Linked DNA regions of Homo sapiens: region 1 is linked to region 2. The links are contacts of gene promoters, found by promoter capture Hi-C in human tissues and cell types (Jung and others, 2019). All regions are on one chromosome and are shown on one strand. Each heading gives the region's core, a stretch centred on a gene start or on the middle of the fragment in contact. The rest is flanking DNA. Distances are from core to core; before and after follow the strand shown. Region 1 holds the start of S100A2 (S100 calcium binding protein A2). Region 2 holds the start of LOC124904422 (a long non-coding RNA gene).

The links. The method cuts DNA at HindIII sites, captures the fragments that hold promoters and counts their contacts. A contact is called where the count stands out against the background at its distance.
Region 1: a contact is called between the fragment with the promoter of S100A2 here and a fragment that was not itself captured in region 2, in 4 of the 25 tissues and cell types used here (liver, mesendoderm cells, pancreas and 1 more).

The regions. Positions count from the first base shown.
Region 1 is chr1:153,564,431-153,568,404 of GRCh38, reverse strand. It overlaps S100A2 (S100 calcium binding protein A2), which reads left to right and starts at 2,561. Exons shown (of 3, transcript NM_005978.4): 1 at 2,561-2,899. RefSeq lists enhancers at 1,400-1,639, 1,337-2,536, 2,510-2,569, 2,689-3,446, 3,447-3,974 and 1 more. The HindIII fragment of the contact is 11,510 bases long and covers 1-3,974 here.
Region 2 is chr1:153,465,213-153,469,156 of GRCh38, reverse strand. LOC124904422 (a long non-coding RNA gene) reads left to right here and starts at 3,047. Exons shown (of 2, transcript XR_007066629.1): 1 at 3,047-3,218. The HindIII fragment of the contact is 3,611 bases long and covers 604-3,944 here.

The sequences.
Region 1 (3,974 bases), core at 1,312-3,811, 99 kb before region 2:
ACGATTATCACCAGTCTCAGGTATATGGCCATTTGATGGGCGCAGTCGCAGCCTCAGTTCCTGAGACAGAGACACCTGATTAAGGACAGGCCTTCAGGAGCTGACCCTAGTGACCCGCGGCTCTGCTGCTGTCTCTGTTTTTCTCCCTGGCTTTTCCATCTGACTGACTCTTTGTCTTCTTCGTCTGCCTGCCTGTCTCCGTCTCTGCCCGCTGGGGGGTTTGCTCAACTCCCTCACTGGGTCCTGGGAGCCGCAGTTTCCTGCTGTCACTCCTCAGGGATTTGTAGCTCTCTGAAGCTCTTTTCCGACCCGTTGTCTCGGTTCCACTCTTGGGATCCAGAGGAGAGGTGATTATTTCGTAGCATAGTCAGTGGTGTGATTTCACGGGGTGAGAAGGACTCCCTTGCTCCTAAGCACTCCTCCAGTGACCCCTGTTGCCATGTGGTAGCCGTAAGCACTGGTTGGCACCTGGTGTGGGCGAGACCCTTACCTCATGCAGAAATGAGTAAGACCGGTGAGCTCACCATGTGGGGGTGAGGCTGAGAGAAAACAAGTACACAGGTGATTCAGTCAAAATCAGAATTCTCTAAGTACACACGAAAAGGGCAAAAGGGGCGCTTTGTACAGGACAGAACAGGTAGACACTGAATCCGGTTGGGCCCTGGGAAGGCTCCCTGCAGTGGCCTTTGAAGGGGGGGTTGGATTTCAGCAGGATAGAGGGCATGGGCATGTGTGGGCACGTTCTGAACAGAGGGGTCAGCGCAAGCCGAGGGTCTTGGCCACACTAGTTGCATGTGCCGGTGTGTTTAAGGGACACGCAGCAGCAGGCCGAGTCTGGAGCGCCTCACTGCCAGGCTTTTTAAAAATTTTTAATTTTAATTTAATTTTATTTTATTTTTACTTTAAGTTCTGGCATACATGTGCAGAATGTGGTTTGTTACATAGGTATACATGTGCCATGGTGGTTTGCTGCACCTATCAACCCATCATCTAGGTTTTAAGCCCCGCATGCATCAGGTATTAGTCCTAATGCTCTCCCTCCCCTTGCCCCCATCCTTCTCCCCGCAACTGCCCACAGGCCCTGGTATGTGGTGTTCCCTTCCCTGTGTCCATATGTTCTCATTGTTCAACTCCCACTTATGAGTGAGAACATACCGCCTGGCTTTAAGGGACAGCCATGGGGATGCACTGCAGTTTCTGAGCAGGGAAGGCCCTGTGGAGGCCCTTAGTTAAAAGGAAAGAATGGCTGTGAAAATCGATGCATTGCGCTCCCTTGTCCCTCACCCTCAGTGTGAAGGGTTTTTATTCCGAGTTCTACTTGAAGTAGGCCTCGATGGGAAGACAAGTAGCATGAGGGGTTCAAGTACTGAGGGGAGCAAGGGACACTCGGTGGCTGTGCCAAGGTGTAGAAGAGGACACTGGGGGCCCCAAGGCCTGACTTCATGTACACTGCTCAGGCTGGCCCCCAAGTCACACGGTGACCGCTAGGAAGGGACCAGCCTGTTCTCAGTCTGATCCTCCTGCCATGTCATTATCCAAAGCTCCTCCTGGCAGGGCCTGTTTGGGGTCTCTGTGCCAGTGCTTTCCCTGCCAGGCTGGGCTGGGGCTTCCACCTACTGCTCTGGGACTGCTGCTGCCCTGGCCCTGGGGGAGGAGGGTGTGCCGCTGAGTCACTGCCTGGGCATCTGGGCCTGGAACCTCGGGTGAGTCACTTAGGGCTGAGGTAGAGGGGCTGGGGGAGGGGAAGAAGCTACTCGACAGCTGGAGCAGGGAGGGGAGCTGGGGCCACAGGAAGGGCGGTGCCCTGATGCCCAGACGGGCCGGGATAGACAAAGGGCCAAGGAGGAAGGGGCCCTGGGAGGGGGCAGCCCTCCCTTGGGCTGGGCTCTGAATGGCCACAGTGTTTGCCTTTCTCCGGGTCTGGGGAGGACATGTGTGTGGGGGGCAGTGAGAGAGGGCTGTGGCTGAGGGCTGTGCTTCAGGCCTGGATTCTGGCTTGGGAAGCTGTCCAGCTGGTGTTTTCAGCCTTGGGTAGGGATGTACCCCTACCCACCCACCCAGCCCTCAAGCTGGAGAAGAGGAGGCCAAAGTTTTCCTGTTCAGCCTTTAACTACTCGGGACTTCCTTATGCTCCCCACAGACTGTGGCCCAGCCCAACTGCGGCTGTGTGTAGAGCAACCCCATTTCTCACTGCTTCCCCATCCTTCCAGACACCTTCCTACACAGAGGGACCTTCCCAGGTATTTCTAAGCACACTTAGTTACCTCATTACCTCATTAAGAGGTATTCTGGTGCTGGCCATTAAAAGTCACTCCACTTCATCCATGCCCTGAAGTCAGTCCTGTCCTTCTCCTCCTGATGTCCCCCAGCTGCCTCCTCTGGCCCCCAGCTTCCTAAGGGTGGCCCCAGGTTGCTTCTCTCTCACACACACGGGCGCATGTATGTACACGAGCACTGGACCATGAAGTCTCAGCGTGTGCTCACAGCCTCTCACACAGGAGTGGGCTGTGACTCACAGGCATGTCATGAGAATGAGGCCTGGCACCAGTCTCCAGGCCCCAGAGCAGGGGTTGCCTCCCCTCACCCCGGTCCAGGATGCCCAGTCCCCACGACACCTCCCACTTCCCACTGTGGCCTGGGTGGGCTCAGGGGCTGCCCTTGACCTGGCCTAGAGCCCTCCCCCAGCTGGTGGTGGAGCTGGCACTCTCTGGGAGGGAGGGGGCTGGGAGGGAATGAGTGGGAATGGCAAGAGGCCAGGGTTTGGTGGGATCAGGTTGAGGCAGGTTTGGTTTCCTTAAAATGCCAAGTTGGGGGCCAGTGGGGCCCACATATAAATCCTCACCCTGGGAGCCTGGCTGCCTTGCTCTCCTTCCTGGGTCTGTCTCTGCCACCTGGTCTGGTGAGTACCTCTGTCCTGCTGAGGGCAGGGTGGGGAGGATCCCCGTGGGTCTCTGTCTTTGTCTCCACAGTTCTCTCATTCCAGCTTCCCTGGTGGGATCAACCTGGGCCTCTCTGGGCCTTCCCCCTTGGAAGAACTCTCTGTGAAGTGCTGAAGTGTTGACTGAAGGGTTTTTTTTTTTTTTTTTTTTTTTTGAGATGGAGTCTCGCTCTGTCGCCCAGGCTGGAGTACAGTGGTGTGATCTCAGCTCACTGCAAACTCCCCCTCCCAGGTTCACGCCATTCTCCTGCCTCAGCCTCCCGAGTAGCTGGGACTGCAGGCGCCCACCACCATGCCCGGCTAATTTTTTTGTATTTTTAGTAGAGATGGGGTTTCACCATGTTAGCCAGGATGGTCTCGATCTCCTGATCTCGTGATCCACCCATCTCGGCCTCCCAAAGTGCTGGGATTACAGGAGTAAGCCACCGCGCCCGGCCGACTGAAGGGTTTTTCTCCAGGTTCCTCTGTGAGGTCTCAGTGCAGGGGTTGCTCTGAGGCCCTCCCCTGGATATCTCAGTCTAGGGGCCCTTCTTTGGGGGTCTAGGCCTAGGAGCAGGAGGTGTGCATGTGGGCGTTGCTGCAAAAAGAATCCTGAGATTTTTTTTTTTTTTTGCAAAGTCCTGGATTCTAGCAGGACTAAGGTGCAAGAGGCAGGGGTCTCAAGACTCTGCCTGGGTCATGGCCCCAAGCAGCAAAGCTCTGCCCCCTGCCTCGGTGAAGGCAGGGCTGGCATGATGGGCCCAGGGCATGCCCTGCCTCTGGCATAGCTCCTCTGGCCTCACCCTGAAACCTGCCTAACCTTTCCAGGCTGGTCTGAGTATTCTCAGAGGCCTTGCCGCTGAGGTCTGTCCCATCCTGATCCCAAGGCAATGAACATTTCATATCTTTAATTCTAATTCCAACAGGATCCTTCCTGGTGGAGAGAATGTTAAGTTGCCCCCACCCTATCCATGCCCCTGTCTGCCTAGAGGCTCAGGGGCCTTCAGGGTGAGGGGAGACACATTCCCCACCCTCTGGGAGCTCCTAGTCTGAGAGA
Region 2 (3,944 bases), core at 1,160-3,659:
GGTTAAATCAAACCCATCTGATGAGAATTTATGGTTTGTAGGGGTTGACTCCTCAGATTCTTTAGATAGGAATTTGGGCAAGATAAAAAAAATCATAATTTAGTCTTCAGAAGTTTACCCACAATTGACCCTTAAGCACCCCTGACCCCAAGCCCGCTCCCACCCAGGGTTTTAGAAAACTCAAGGATTGGAAAGACCTCAAGAAGGATAATATTCAATTGCTAGCTAAGAGGGCAGTGGAGTTGGGGTGGAGAGGATAAAGCAATTATCTTAAAAATTAAAGAAATGTAGTATAGTACTCAATACAATGAATCAGGTTATACTGATTAAATATTGAGGCTCCTTTTGGGATTTTTGCCAGTTCTCACTAGCTTATTCATACTTTCTTCTTTACAGACCTTTTAAATCTTTCTTTCTTTCTTTTTTTTTTTTGAGACCGAGTCTCGCTCTATCTCCCTGGCTGGAGTGCAGTGGTGCGATCTCAGCTCACTGTAACCTCTGCCTCCTGGGTTCAAGTGATTCTCCTGCTTCAGCCTCCCGAGTAGCTGGGAATACAGGCACCCACCACCACACCTGGCTAATTTTTGTATTTTTAGAAGAGATGGGGTTTTGCCATGTTGGCCAGGCTGGTCTCCAACTCCTGACCTCAGGTGATCCACCCTCCTCGGCCTGTGTCATGGGCCACGGTCACTTATATTTGGCTCAGAATAAATAACAGGGGATCCAACCTTGGGGAGAGCAGGAGAAGGGCTCGATGGTTAGAGGAAAGAGCTGGAACAGAAGTGCTCAGGTAGGAGCCAGCCTGGGCTGACGGAGGGGCAGAAAGAAGGGCTGGAGTGGTGTAAATGGAGTTCAGAGAGACAGGAAATGAGGTCTGAGCGGCAGGCAGAGGACAAGCCAATGAGGACTTCGCAAAATTTGAACTTTAAGCAGGATGGGAAACGACTGAAAGGTTTTTAGTAAGGGATATACCACGTTCATGGACTGGAACACTCTGCTATTGTAAAGCTGTCAGTTCTCCCAAACACAACCTGTAGATTCAGTGCAATCCCAATCCCAAAGTCCTTGCTGGAATTTTTGTAGAAATTGACAAGTTAACTCTAAAAAACATATGGAAAGGCCAATAATACCCAAGACAATTATGAAAAAGATGGGAGGATCTACAGTACTAGATGTTAAGATTTATCACAATAGCCCTGGTAACAGATACTGCTGGGCTGGTTCAATGACAGTCACATAGATCAACAGAACTAAATAGAGGCCTGAGAAAAAGACACACACGTATGGTATATTTATTCTGTGACAAAAGTGGCACTGCTGAGCACAAGCTTCTCAATACATTTTACTGGATCAACTGGATGCTCATGCTCATGAAACTAGACCACACAAGCAGACAAAATGACAATTCCAAGTGGATTGTAGGTCTAACTGTGGAAAGTAAAGTCATAAAGCCTCAGTAGCATATGCAAAGATATTCAAGACCTCAGTCTTGAAGATTTACTTCTATATTTTCTTCTAAGAGTTTGTTTTAGCTCTTATGTGTAGGGCTGTGACCTATTCTGAGTTAATTTGTGCGTATGAAGGAAGGAAGGGGTCCAGCTTCATTATTTTGCATGTGGCTGTCCACTTGTCCCAGCATCATTTGTTGGAAAGACTATTCTTTCTCCATTGAATTGGCTTGGCGGGCTTGTTGAAAATCTGTTGACTGTGAATGTGAAGGCTGAGAACACTTTATCATGAACTGTTAGCTTCACCTATGTAAAGATATCTTCTCTCTGCTCTGCCTCCTGTCAAAATCTGACAGGACTCTTGCTCAAAACAAGCTTTGTTTCCTGAGTTCTGTGGCCTTGTCTCATGTGGAGCAATCATGTCACATTAACCCCCTCCCCACCCCCACTCCACGTCCACCCTGTGGCACGGCTTTGCCTTTTCCCGGCTGCTTTATCATCTGCTTTTTCAATTAGGACTATTTTTAAAACATTTCCCCAGTTCTTAAATATTTTCTGAGTGCTTGATTCTAGATAGCTACATTGTATGGAATTCCTGAACCATTCTGACTCACAACACTTCTGATGCCAAATGTGTGGGGGTTATATTTCCTTTTTTAAAAATCCCCACACCAACCAATTCTCCAACTGTCTGAACACTGTCGGGGTATCATGCAATTCCGTTCTGATCCTAACTACCCAGAGTTAGCACAGACCCCACAAGGTGAAGGCTCAGCCCCACAACACTGCCCCCACTTCAGATGCCAGTCGCAGCACCTGACCGCCCATACTTCTGACTAACTGGCTAAAATTGGAGGTTCCTACAAATCCCCTCCTCAGGTTAGATAATCTGCTACAAGAGTTCACGGGACTCAGGGAGGCACTTTACTCATGATTACTGGTTTACTACAAAGAATGCAACTCAGGAAAAGCCACGTGGAAGAGACACGCAGGGCCATGTATGAGGGGCAGCACGGAGCTTCAAGGCCCACCCCAGGCGCCCACCCTTCTGGCACCCCACCCACTCAGCAGCCCGACAGCTCTCTGAGCCCCATCGTTTGGGGTTTCTATGGCAGTCACTTCATTTAGGCATGGTTGATTAAATAATTGGCCACTGGTGATTGAAGTCCTTCCCCAGCCGCTCCCTGGAGGCCCAGCCTGGGGCTGAAAGCTCCAGCCCTGTAATCACATGGTTGCTTCCTCTGGCAACCAGCCCCATCCTGAAGCTATTTAGGGGTCCACCAAGAGTCACCTCATTAGCACACACTCAGTATGGCAGGAAGGGGGTTGTTATGAATAACAAAAGATGCTCCCTCTCCCCTGTCATTCGGGAGATTCCAAGGATTTCAGACGCTTGGTGTCAGGAACAGGGACAAAGACCAAATGTCCATTTCGTATCATCACAGGGATTCCATGTGTATAGGCATCAAGATTTACGTAACCCACCATTACTAAAAATTTAATTATTTTAATTTATTCCTGTTTCTACCAACTCGATTAACAATTGCATCCCCAATACATGATTTTGTGCAGCGCCCTCTGGTAGGCATTGCAGAGAGAAGAATGCAAATTAAATAAGAAAAGCCCTCTGCCCTTCAGGAGCTTTTGGTGAAGATCTCTTTTTTAAAAAGCTGCAAGACTGCTGCCCGAAGTGGGACACACAACCTAAATAAGGGCGAGAACCGGCAAGGACGGCCCAGCCACGTGGAACCGCCTCGCAACTCTGGCGAGGTGGGTGCTCGGTGGCGCCACCGTGTGGAAGCTTGGGAAACAGAAAACCTATTCTCCGCGCTCAGGGCCAGAGTTTCATCCTGGGTCTCTGACTGGGGCCAACTGTAACGGAAACAGCCCTGACTGTAAGTCAGAATCCTACAGTCCTCTTTGGCCAGGGAGTCTTCCTGGAGTGACCTCCACTGCTTTCTCCAGCTTTCCAGTTTTAACCTACAGGGCCCAGCCTCCTCTTGAAATTGGGCGAGACGAAGAATGATCATTGCCAACTTGAAATTTGGTTGAACAGATACATTTCTCAGGGTACGCATGGGTCACTTCCCAGCACTGTCTGTGTATGCGGCCTCCGAGAAAGCAACCTCCCTTATCAGGCTAACAGAATTGACAGTAAATCCTCCCAGCAAACCCATTCGACAGGATGGTGGGTGTTAGTCCAAACTGCACCATTTTGTAAGCCCCCTGCCATTTTGCGGACCCTGGTCAGAGTGAAACATTCCATGTGGATTCAGGCCGTGAGAAACATCCTGCCTAACCACCTGACCGCAAGGCACAAGAGCATCCTTATCATACCCTGCTGGGCAAAGGCGCAACTGAAGGAACATCCCCATCATATCCTGCGGGGCAAAGGTCCAAGAAACAGCCTATCACATCCCGCTGGAAAAAGGTCCAAACCGCCTGATCACAGGAACATCTTATCAATATCCTCCCGGCGAGCTAGCCATACTGCCC